3 separate regions of the Homo sapiens genome follow, and all the other regions are linked to region 2. The links are contacts of gene promoters, found by promoter capture Hi-C in blood cells and fetal thymus (Javierre and others, 2016). All regions are on one chromosome and are shown on one strand. Each heading gives the region's core, a stretch centred on a gene start or on the middle of the fragment in contact. The rest is flanking DNA. Distances are from core to core; before and after follow the strand shown. Region 1 holds the start of LOC105377504 (a long non-coding RNA gene). Region 2 holds the start of GUCY1A1 (guanylate cyclase 1 soluble subunit alpha 1). Region 3 overlaps LOC105377505 (a long non-coding RNA gene).

The links. Contacts are between HindIII fragments. The CHiCAGO score rates a contact against its expected background, and 5 or more counts as called.
Region 1: a fragment that was not itself captured here is called in contact with the fragment with the promoter of GUCY1A1 in region 2 in 2 of 17 cell types (megakaryocytes and fetal thymus); the score reaches 6.2 in megakaryocytes.
Region 3: a fragment that was not itself captured here is called in contact with the fragment with the promoter of GUCY1A1 in region 2 in 1 of 17 cell types (fetal thymus); the score reaches 6.0 in fetal thymus.

The regions. Positions count from the first base shown.
Region 1 is chr4:155,521,710-155,525,924 of GRCh38, forward strand. LOC105377504 (a long non-coding RNA gene) reads right to left here and starts at 895. Exons shown (of 2, transcript XR_939376.3): 1 at 343-895; 2 at 1-96. The HindIII fragment of the contact is 1,917 bases long and covers 1,406-3,322 here.
Region 2 is chr4:155,665,152-155,668,864 of GRCh38, forward strand. It overlaps GUCY1A1 (guanylate cyclase 1 soluble subunit alpha 1), which reads left to right and starts at 1,697. Exons shown (of 10, transcript NM_001130682.3): 1 at 1,697-1,814; 2 at 2,195-2,268. The HindIII fragment of the contact is 4,774 bases long and covers 1-3,657 here.
Region 3 is chr4:155,503,697-155,507,729 of GRCh38, forward strand. The region is part of intron 1 of LOC105377505 (a long non-coding RNA gene); the gene reads left to right. Among named protein-coding and RNA genes, the nearest start is that of MAP9, 130 kb to the left of the region's middle. The HindIII fragment of the contact is 950 bases long and covers 1,131-2,080 here.

The DNA.
Region 1 (4,215 bases), core at 1,114-3,613, 140 kb before region 2:
CACGATGAATGAGGGGTCGGCAACTCATTATCTGGGTGTGGTGATCTGGTAAGTCTCAGTTCTTTGATACTTCTTGAGATTCCTGGGAACCCTTTCCTGAGGAAGGAATTCAGATAAAATAAATATAAGTTTTAAGCTTAAGAGCAGAAGGGTCAATTTCTATATTCATCCGAAAGAAAAAAAACTATTCTATGGGACTATTGGATGGGTATCACTTGCCTATCACTTAAACCTTAAGTTCTTCCATCCTCCCTCTTAGTCCCCGAACTCCAGGTATTCTGGCCTTCTTTTCTGCTGCTGAACACACCAAGCTTGTTCATAATATTCAGATTCTGTACTCACTGTGCCTTCTGTTAGAAATGTTTGATTTTCAGATCTTCTCTTAGCTGCCTCTTCTTAGCATTCAGATTCCAATTCTCGCCTTCTCTAACCATTGTAGGTAAAGTGGTTACCGATCCTGCCTTCTCATTTTTCATCTTCTTTCTTCACATAAACCAGAGGCAGCTGGACACTTTAAAATGTTTTTTCCCAAGCTTTTATGGCCTGCTCCTCTGTTAGAATTTGTCTGTAAATGATAACACCAGCTTTTTTTCTTCCTCCTGTTTCTGGATTTGACGTGATTTTTAAATTCTTTCTTGGCTTTGTAAGTTAAGCTCCTGAGCTTAACTGTCTGGGTCTTGAAATTTGGACAACTTCCTTGAATTCTGAACTACATAGTTTTATAAACATTGCGTAGGTTTGTTTATTTTGTTGGTGTGAGCAATCAGTCTATACCACAGCTCTTTTAAGTAAGCACTAGGCCTCTTTCCACTTATCCCACTCTAAGCACCACCATGTAGCCCCACAATTAGGAAGCAAGATTTGACAAAGCCTTAGGTGTCCTCTAACAACCTTCTTACTAAATGCAAGAAATTTCTGTCACTTCCTGGTAAGTAGATATTCCGGCTTCTTCATGAATAACTCTGATAACATGGAGTCCACTATTTCACTAGACAGGTCATGTCAACTACATAAAACTCTAAGACTCCTTAGAGACTTCTTTCTTAAATTTATCTTAAAACGTTTCCTGGAAACCTCTACAGAATAGTTCAAATTTTACATTCTAGATGACACAAAATAATTCTTTACCATGTGCTAGCTACATGACCTGGTTAAGAATGGTCACAATCTAGGCATGGATTTGAGGAGCTATGGGATAAACCTAGCTATCAAAACCAAAAAACTATGGCAAGATCACTGACATCACAGTGTGGCAATCAAGTAATCTTGAAGCCATATGCTTCTTTCTTCACCATGCCTACTAATACCATTTATTTTCCACTGAGAATCCAGGAATAAATAACACCTCTACCTCTGAAAGGAGACAGTTTTCCAAGAATTGTTGAAGGGTAAAGGGGAAACATAAAGCTTTAAGTCTTTCTAAAGATAATTTGTGATATCCTCAAAACCTGCTCTCTTGTGCAAACAAATCCCAGTTCAATTTCTGTGTTTTCTAGGGAGCTTTACAGACTTGTGCCTCAGTTGTCTCTGATTAATGTTCCCCAACAAGTTCCCAAACAATTACTTTTTATTCTGGCTGAGTTCTCACAGTATAGCTCTTGAATATCTCTGCTTTGGAAAAATTGAACATCTGTAGCTCTCCTCCCTATTCCATTACCATGACATTTATTGAGTGCTAAAATGTACAAGATTATATTTGTCTCTGTGTTGTTAGGGCCCATACGCTGGTAGTCATTATACTTTTTCTTCTTTGAAGGTGTCCCTCCTTCACAGGGCTCACTGAAATACAGAACAGGTCTTGTCAGTTTGTGTGCATGACTATTTTTATCTCAGAGGGAGGGATTGTGGGATACAATTTATATACAAGAGATAAATTATAGACACACAGTGTCTGGTTACTCACTTAGCTTAAGCAGGTTTACATATGTTAAAGAGTATCTTCTAGGCTTGTTTTCCCTCTAACTCCAATCACTGATTCCTCGATTTCATTTTCTTGCTAGTTCACTGGGACATTTCACCTGGTAGGACAAGACTCAATTTTTCTTTTAGTACCCTTTAAGTCCTGGAACAAAGTTCTCTCAGGGGGCTTGAAATCCAGATTTCAGAGGGAAACTGCTTTCCATAGTCATCTAAACAGTTGGCAAGGATAGAGTCCTGTGATCTTTCCACTTACAATTTTACTACTAGTTTTCCCTTTGTTTAAGAAATAACAATCTGATTATCATTCTTTACCACCTACATCTAGATTCAGTCATCATATTCTGAAAATCCTCCATCTCCTATCTTATATCCATTCTTCTTTTTGCCTTTCTTAACTATGAAACAGTTAATTTCTTGGGACAGTAATTTTGCCTTGGTATTTTTGAATTCCTGTGCATAGAACAGAGAGAAAGTGAATGAATGCCCTGCTTGTTCTGCATCTGTACCTTCTAGCATTAGCATCTTCTTCCAAAATTACCTTAGGAATCCTTTAAGCCTCATCTCTGAGGAAACCATTTGCATTCATAGCATGCATATCTTTATTATTATTATTATTATTATTATTATTATTTTGAGACTGAGTCTCGATCTGTCGCCCAGGCTGGAGTGCAGTGGCATGATCTCAGCTCACTGCAACCTTTGCCTCCCAGGTTCAAGCGATTCTCCTGCCTCAGCCTCCCAAGTAGCTGGGATTACAGGCTTGCACCACTGTGCTCAGCTAATTTTTGTATTTTCAGTAGAGGCAGGGTTTCACCATGTTGACCAGTCTGGTCTCAAACTCCTGACCTCAGGTGATCTGCCTGCCTCGGCCTCCCAAAGGACTGGGATTACAGGTGTGAGCCACCATGCCTGGCTATATGCATGCATATCGATAGTCAATTGACTGTTGTTTTGTCTGGTTTTATGTGGTCCACTTACACCAAGACATCTCTATCTCAATTATGATGCAGATCATTTGGATCCAGCCTAACGGAATGTCCTCCCCTTCCTTCTCTTTCTCCTATATCAGCTATATATTTTAACATGCATACAATTCCAAAGTCAAAAACATTAAAACAAACTAGGAAAAAAAAAGTAAAGTAATGTTTCCCTTCAAGAGTCTAAAGAACTAGAACAGTTTCTAGGTAACCCACAGCAGATTAGCCCCAGGATATCTGAACAAAAATCTTTATATTACAGGAACTAAAAATCAGTGGTTGAGTTTATTATATATCAAAGGTCTGCATCTTGTCACTTGAGACAATTCACAAGGAGAATAGAAATTTGAAAGAATAAATCTGACTAAGCCAGAAGCATTTTCCACCAGGTGTCAACACGTTTCCCATCTGCTGGGAATGAGGAAAGCTTTGTATCTGCTCCATCTCTGTACTCTTCCCTTCTTCAGACACCAGGACAAAAACTTAACATTGTCGCTAAAGCAATTTTTATTTTGACAGCTTTAGCATTTCATCATAATGCCTTTGTTTCAATGGAAAAAGTTCTCCCACGCTCTTCACTGAAGATGACTTTCTTACTAAGTCAAAGCTTTTGCCTCTTCTTACATAACAAATGTGTACACAACCCACCTGCTTCTGGGTTACTTTCCATCTGTTCATCAAGACAAACCCTATTACATATGAAAACAACTTTTTTCCTTTTTATGGACATTATGTCTCCATGTAAATTAAATTTGTAATCAAGTTGGGTCTTCTTTTTAGACAACAAAAATATTTCAGGAACTTCATGACAATTGATTTATAGAATGTCCTGGTTAGCCAGGATATTTGTCTTATGTATAGTGAAATATTTTTTATAGACAACAGATAATTTCAATTTTAAAATAATCACTTGGACTGTAAATTCAGCGAAAAAGGCAGTCTCTTCCTTAATCGGAAGCCAAGTGGAGTTGCAAGTCATACTAACCTTAGGAAGTCAGAGCAACTGAGACATTGGAGATCATCTAGTGTGTTCCCAGCTTTGGACCTCTTTGAGAATTTGAAAAGGAAGCTATAAACCCTCCTCTGGGAAAGTATACATGCACTCAAAATGTTCATAATATATCAGGGTTCTTTTGTTCCTCTGGGCCAAAAACCATAACCCAGGTAAGGAACACTTGATTTAGTCCAACTCTTTCATTTTGATAACAAACGGAATCTCATAGAAGCCAACTGATTAACTTAAGATCCTAATTTAAGCCTACAAGTTATATTACCTATTAACAGAACAATTCTTTTCTTACCATAATTGACTATGTTT
Region 2 (3,713 bases), core at 447-2,946:
AGAGCATATCAAACATCCAGATTACAGAATGTCTTTTGCAGTCACCTTTTGGTGGTTCTAGCCACCCTTATGTTTAGATTGGTTGCTTCCTCTTCTTACCCATTGTCTGACAGTCAGAAAGGATAGAGGAGGAAGAAGACAAGACACTATCCAGTTGAGAGTCTACTCTTAGTAAAACTCGGTAGCTCCTGGCAGAATGTACTGGGGTCAAATGCAATACTAATCAAGGAGTTTGGTGTGCCATAAAACTTGAGAATGGTAAAAGTAGAAATTAATGGGTTAAACAAGTCATTTTCCAGAATGAAAGGAATATTGGTAATGGTATCAACAGACGAGGACAACAGCAACAACAAAGTCTTTATACAAGCCTGCAACACGTGACAACTGCGGATCAGGCATCTGAACCCGGCCTATCTTTCCACCGTATCTTCCTACACTTTTCTTTATGTACTTTTTATTTCTACCAGATGGTATTACTCCTTGTTTCTTGAATAACAGTGTCATGCCTTTCCAACCTCTGTATGTTTGCTCACAAGTTTCCCTCTGTCAGAGAAAAGCAAAAACAACAAAAAAGTCCTCTATTTTATCTTTTTCCAAACATAACCAATCCTTCAAGTCCTATCTCTAGTACTGTTCCTTTATGAACCCTGTCAGACAATATCTCATTTTCTTCTGAATGTTCATAGCATTTACTTAAAAATAGTATGACTTCCCTCTTCTTTTTACTAATGAATTACTGTGTATTTTTTAAGTTTCCTTCTACATCTGAAGTTCTAAATATTCTTAGTACAAATGTCCTACTGATCTAAGAGAGTATCATGGGTTAAATGTAGAGGAAGAGAAGTTTCTGAGATGGCAGGAAGGCAAAAGTTTCTGTGACTACCTGTGCTTATATTGCTGACTTTCTTAACTGTTCCTGACTTATTTAAATGTATTTTTTTCCTGATTCTGATTAATGTTCACTATGAGGCAAGCACAGTAGGCAAGACTGGGAGAAAGTTTGCAAATGTGATGAGCTTACAAATGGGACCAGATTAGATGGTGTACTTGGGGGAGATATAAAAGAGGAAGATAACCATGAATTGAACTGAATTGAAAATGGATCACATAAAGATCATGATTAATTGTTAATTCACAATGGAACAGCATGATGGGATTTTTTTAAGTCAGAAAGGTGACTAAAAGCATAATATCACAACACACACAACGGTAACAAATATAACTAAATGCACTGAACCAGGCAGAAGCCAGACCTTACTGAAAAGATGTAAAATCTCTGTAACCATAAAACTGCATCTGCAAATGAGTAGATTGGCTTCAAATCTGAAAACCAGGACAAGAGAGTCATCAGCGCAGATGTCAACTTCCCCAGCAGAAATGTTGGAGTTTTTAACTGTGGAAAACTACAGTTTTTCCACACCAGTGCATAGTGGAGAAGACATGTTTTTGTTTTTCTTTTTAAGTGTGCCAAATTTTCCTGGAGTCCCCTCCAATTTTTTTCTTTCTCTCTCTCTCTCTCTTTTTTTTTTTTTGTCCCCTGCCCCTAGGTCTCTGTCTCCACACAGTGATTTCTGTTATGGCGATTGGGCGGCTGCAGAGACCAGGACTCAGTTCCCCTGCCCTAGTCTGAGCCTAGTGGGTGGGACTCAGCTCAGAGTCAGTTTTCCAGAAGCAGGTTTCAGTGCAGAGTTTTCCTACACTTTTCCTGCGCTAGAGCAGCGAGCAGCCTGGAACAGACCCAGGCGGAGGACACCTGTGGGGGAGGGAGCGCCTGGAGGAGCTTAGAGACCCCAGCCGGGCGTGATCTCACCATGGTGCGTTTTGGCTGCTACTTTCTTTTTCAGTCTTTCGGTGCGGAGAAGGGGAGGAGGCGGGCAGAGGTCTGAAAAAATCGAATGCCTTATGGAAAGGAACTGCAAGGGTTCCTTTGGGGTGATCAAAGAGGGAGACACAGACACAGAGAGACAAAGGCAAGGAGGACTGTCTGGGAGCCACGCGGGCGATACAGTTTCCGAGGCACGCCGCGTCCCGCCTAGCCTGTTGAACAGGTAGACATGAGCGACCCAAGCGTAAGTGCCGCTGCCGCGAGTGCCCAGGGTGCACTCGCGCGGGGACCGACAGGTGCCACTGCAGGGTCCCCTCTCCCGCTCACTGCCTGCCACCCCTGACGCCTGCTCTCTTTCTCCATTCGCAGTGCGGATTTGCGAGGCGCGCCCTGGAGCTGCTAGAGATCCGGAAGCACAGCCCCGAGGTGTGCGAAGCCACCAAGTAAGTGGTCGCTGCATCCCCACGCGGGTCGGGGTTCTTCAGACAGGCGGTCCCTCTTCCGGGACCCCCGCTTGGGCTGGGTCTCCTTCCTCTCCTGAGAAACCTTCGGTACGCTCCCAGTTGCCCAGCCCTGGGAAGCCAGCATCGGGTTCCCACGCTGGGGAGGAGCGAGAGGAAAGGAGAGGACGCCCGAGGGGCCGGCCCAGGGCCCGGGGGACCCGCGGCGCCCGAGGGAGGAGCACAGACGGGGGTGGGCGCCGAGCAGCGCCGCGCCGGCTGCTGAGCTCGCGGGGCCGGGCCGTGAGAACGCGCGGGGCGCGCCGGGGCCGCTGGTCTCCCACGGCCAGGGCGCCTGGGCCCCAGAGCCCATCAGCCGCGTGCAGCGCTGCGGCCTCCGGCGCGCCGGCAGGCAAGCGAGCGGGCGCAGCTGGGGGATGCCTGGACCCCGGAGGCAGCAGGGCTGGAGGCGGTGGCGGGCTTCAGGGCAACTTCACCCGGCCGGCTGCGGCGTGGGTAAGAGGCGCGTCCTCCTCCACAGCAAAAGCTGCGATCGCTGGGCTGCCCAGAGAAGGCAGCCGGCTAACTGCCCAGCGGCTCCACGAGGTGTGCGCGTGTGTGCGAGAGAGACAAATGATTTACTGCTTAGCAGTCCCATTTCTGTTTTCGTTAGGACTGCGGCTCTTGGAGAAAGCGTGAGCAGGGGGCCACCGCGGTCTCCGCGCCTGTCTGCACCCTGTCGCCTGAGCTGCCTGACAGTGACAATGGTGTGAGGGGCTGCGTTGCAATGTGGTCATGTGATTTCAGGCTATGGATTTCGTGCGTCTTTCTCTGCTCACTGATTTTCACATGGTTATTCTTTCATTTTGCACTCGATAAACAGTTTACATCTTCTGAAGTAAGCCAGAAGATTGTATGGCTCACTTAACGATGACTGGTTGAAGGCATCTTGATTTGGAACCTATGGAAACAGTGCTGAGTTTTAAATAGGACAGATTTTTTTTTCTTTCATTTGAACTTCATTTATAACATATCAATAGTGATGTTTTAGGATCAGTTCTCCTATGGTAATTTCACTAAATGCCTATTTAATGAATTGATTTGATTTCATACATCTCTACCACTTACTAGAACTGTCTTTGTACAAACGTCAAACTTTCCTGTTACATATGGGTAAGCATAGAAGCACTTGATATAATTTTTTTTTATCTTGGTTCAGAGTGTAGAAGTGGTCTGTTGCTTTTCCTAAAATTGCTATACATATTTTTTCTTTAAGAGTGATCATTTCAGGTACCCTATTATGTACAGTGGTAAAAAGTAAACTCGTTATGATAGCAACGACGATGTAACCAAAATAAGCAACACTTAATTGGTCTGAAAGTTATACATATAAGCTTTATTATTGCTTCAGTGGAAGTTGTCTATGCATTCTGTGCTTTGTTCAGCCA
Region 3 (4,033 bases), core at 356-2,855, 160 kb before region 2:
ATTGTAGAATCCTAAATAGTTTCACAGAAACTACAGAACTGAGTCTTAAAATAAACGTTTTGGCTATTAAATCACAGATGGTCACCAGAAAGCTTACTGCAATTTTCTACCCTACCGCAAAAAATGAAATTGGTTGTTTTTTCCATGCTGTTATAATTGTGGAAGGGAAATGAGGTAACACGATTTATAAAAATGGTTTTTTATAGGTATTATTTTTTAAGTTGCCTTTAGTATTATTTTTTCTTTCCTTCAGAACATTTACTCTTTTTGTTGTTGTTGCTTGTATTGTTTTTAGATTTTAGTAGCATACTGTAAAGGTTTTGGAATGGCTTGTAGCATTTTAGTATATAATGGGGCACAAAACAGGTTGTCCTCCGTCTATTTAATTCAGGATCTTTTTTTGTTTTGTTTTGTTTTGTTTTTTTGAGTTGGAGTCTCGCTCTGTTGCCCAGGCTGGAGTGCAGTAGCTCGATCTCGGCTCACTGCAAGCTCCGTCTCCCGGGTTCACGCCATTCTCCTGCCTCAGCCTCCTGATTAGCTGGGACTACAGGCGCACACCACCATGCCCGGCTAATTTTCTGTATTTTTGTGGAGACGGGGTTTCACCGTGTTAGCCAGGATGGTCTCAATCTCCTGATCTCGTGATCCGCCCGCCTCGGCCTCCCAAAGTGCTGGGATTACAGGCGTGAGCCACCGTGCCCGGCCCACTCAGGATCATTTTTATCTATAAGGCTCACATGCGAAAAGGATATGTTTTAGGCAAATGCTTTATAATAAACAACTCTGAGAATTTTCTAGGACCTGAGCTTTCATGAACACTGATGGTGATAATTTGTGATGACTTGGCAGACACAGAGAGAGGAACATGTTCATAATAAGAAGATAAATAATTGAAGAAATGATTTTCCTTTTTTTTTTTGACATTTCCATAAAATCAAATCTGAGCTTTATTGTGGTAAGAACTGACATTGTGGGAAAAAAAAAAAAAAAAAGAGAGCTTTCCTGTCCCCATCGATATCTCTTTAAGATAGCAAAGGAGAACAATAACACAAATGACATCTCCAAATAATTTCTAAACTTCTTGGCATACATTTAATTTTCTTCACTTTCACTAATAAAGTTAATTTTTAAGCTTTCTTCCCTAGTTTATTTTCCAGAAGAGACTTTTCATGAACAATGTGAAAACCAAATTATAGTAGAACTAATATGCAAAATGCAACCTGAATTGATTCATTTCAAACGCAAATGTGTAGTTAAATATTTTCTCTTATTGATTCTCATTTAATTATGAAATATTGTTTTAATTTAATATTTTGTAGCCTAAAGACTTTAGAGTATATCATATTACTGATTTAACTGTTAGTTAGAAACACTATACTGCACTGTGCTTGAATTTAAGCAGTAGTACCTCATTTTAAGAGTTTTTTTATAATTGCTTTGCTAGAATAATTTTTCAATGGAAATATATCAGAGGAATATAAAAATTATTCTATGGATTGACTCATAATTAGACCTTTCGTGTATTTTAAGGTCAATACATAAAGTAAAACAGGAACCATTTTTAGAACATAAAAAAGGCTCAATAATCTATAGTCAAAAATGGCCTTTATAAAAGCATAGAATACTGACTTTTTATGTTTTAACTGCACCAATAACAGCAGCAGCATTATCAGGTCATAGGTCATGTTTTTAAACTTGCTGGCCACGTTTTAAACTTTGCCAGTTCTCAAAGAATGTAGTAGAACTTATGTTGAAATTATGTTGCACACACTACTTTATATTGGGTGTTAGCAAATCTCTTCATATGGTATTGCTCCTCCCATGATGTGAGCAGTTTGCATGAAGATTCATCTTTGCATGCTCCATCAAACTCAGCACACAGCCATCCATATGTTAGGCCCTCAGGAAGTACTCATAGAATAGAACGTTTCTCAGATGGAAAGAACTGTGAACAAATTCTTAAGAGATCAGAGTTTTCAGTCTGTTTCTCCCCCCGTGAATTTCCTGTCCTTGTTTTGTTCACAGTATCTCTTTAGTTTGTAACCCAAAAAATCTGAGACAGGTCTCAATCAGTTTGGAAAGCTTATTTTGCCAAGGTTAAGGATGTGCCGGTGACACAGCCTCAGGAGGTCCTGATGACATGTACCCAAGGTGGTTGGGTTCAGCTTGCTTTTGTACATTTTAGAGAGACATGAGACATCAATCAATATATGTAAGATGTACATTGGTTCCGTCATAGGAAGATAAAAGGCAATTCTTTTTGACAAGTCTTTTGCGTTCTCTTGAGTCTCTGATTAGCTTTTCACTGAATACACAATTTACATATGAGAGGAGGGTAGAGGAATAGTCATTTATGCCTTAGTCTGGCTTAGTGAATCTGCATTTTTAAGTAAACAATAAGGTAGAGGAAGCAATCAGATATGTATTTGTCTCAGGTGAGCGGAGGGATGACTTTCTGCCCTGCACCTGTGAAGATGAGCTATCAGTTTACATTGCCAGGGTGAAATTCAACAGAACTGGAATTTCACCCTGAAATTTCCTCAAGGTCTTTACCCTATTCCTTGTGTGCAAATTCCTTGTGGGCGAATTGTCAGGCAGGCATGTAGCTTTCTTAGCTATCTTTTTTAGGAATAAAATAGGAGGCAGGTTTTCCTGACGCAGTTCCAGCTTGACTTTTCCTTTTGGCTTAGAGATTTGGGGGTCCCGAGATTTATTTCCCGTTCACAGGTTCCATAGCTGAAAAAACAGAAGACTGAACTAAATAGTTTTAAGCTACTTTCAAGTCTGAAATGTGATTTCTGAGTAGTCCTCTTTTGTACTGCTTCTGGAAGTCTTTTTGTACAGACTGTTTCTTGCAAGCTTTCCTATTGCTTCAAATATGCATATCTTCAAACAGAGGAATGGATTCTGTGTATTTTTAAAAATATTTTATAATTGTCTGTATTTAGGCTCTCCTGTGGAGAGCTGGTACTAAAAGTATAAGCTTTTATTCTCAGCCTAGTATTTGTGTAATCTATAAGTATATATAAATGTTGGTTTCCTTGAAAAACTAATTTGTCAGTTCCTACTTTTTTTTTTAATTAATGAAAGTTTTCTCTAACTTGTTGCCAGGAGAATTTGGTATTTCAGATGTCAACTTTTCTGAAAGTAGTTTTGTTCCTTTATCATGGACTTCAGCAGTTGTTTTCAATACTCAAACTGACAGGGCGAAGGATAACAGTCTCAGCTGTGCTCCCACAGCTGGTAATTGAATGTTTCTAGCTGGCCTTGTGATGAGCAGGGCAGCCGATCTCTGCAGCCAAACGATGCTGAGAGCTGGAAACACAACCATCAGCTTCTCTACATGCTGATGAAGACAATGACGATGCATTCTAGGCTGGTGAAGATAGAGACTGCTTTGCAGAAATAGTATGCCTTGAGTACTTTTCATTCCAGTTTTAGTTATAAAATGAGTGTGAAAATTATTGGAATGATTAGTTTGCTATTTTAAAATATGGTTACATTGAATCATACAAAGAATTCTATCTATCTATCTATCTATCTATCTATCTATCTATCTATCAACATCATCTATCTATCTATCATCTATCTAGAATCTTCATCAGGACCTCTGAATGTAACCGGTTTTCTAGAGATAAGTGGGTCTAATTCCCTTAGTTTTCTACACAGACTGCTTAAACAGAAGTCAGGAAAATTGTCCTTGATTACCTCTGAGAGAAATGGTGCATGAAGGAAGGACAGGTAGAATGAGAAGGAGAGAAAGGGAAGATAGCCAAGAAAGAAGGGAGAGATTTAAAACTATTTAAGAATATGTGGTAAGAATGATGGAAGGATGTATTAACTGGTTGTTTCATTAATGTTCAGTCACAAATTTTATTCCTCATTCTTAAAGAACTGAATAAGATAAACTGCAAGAAACTATCATTTTCTGGAGATTTCCTATATCCTTATGTATAAATGTCTTACAACATTCTTAGGTAAGTTTTTTTCATCTGCATGATGTTTGCAATTGTGCCTCTTAACAAATGCACCT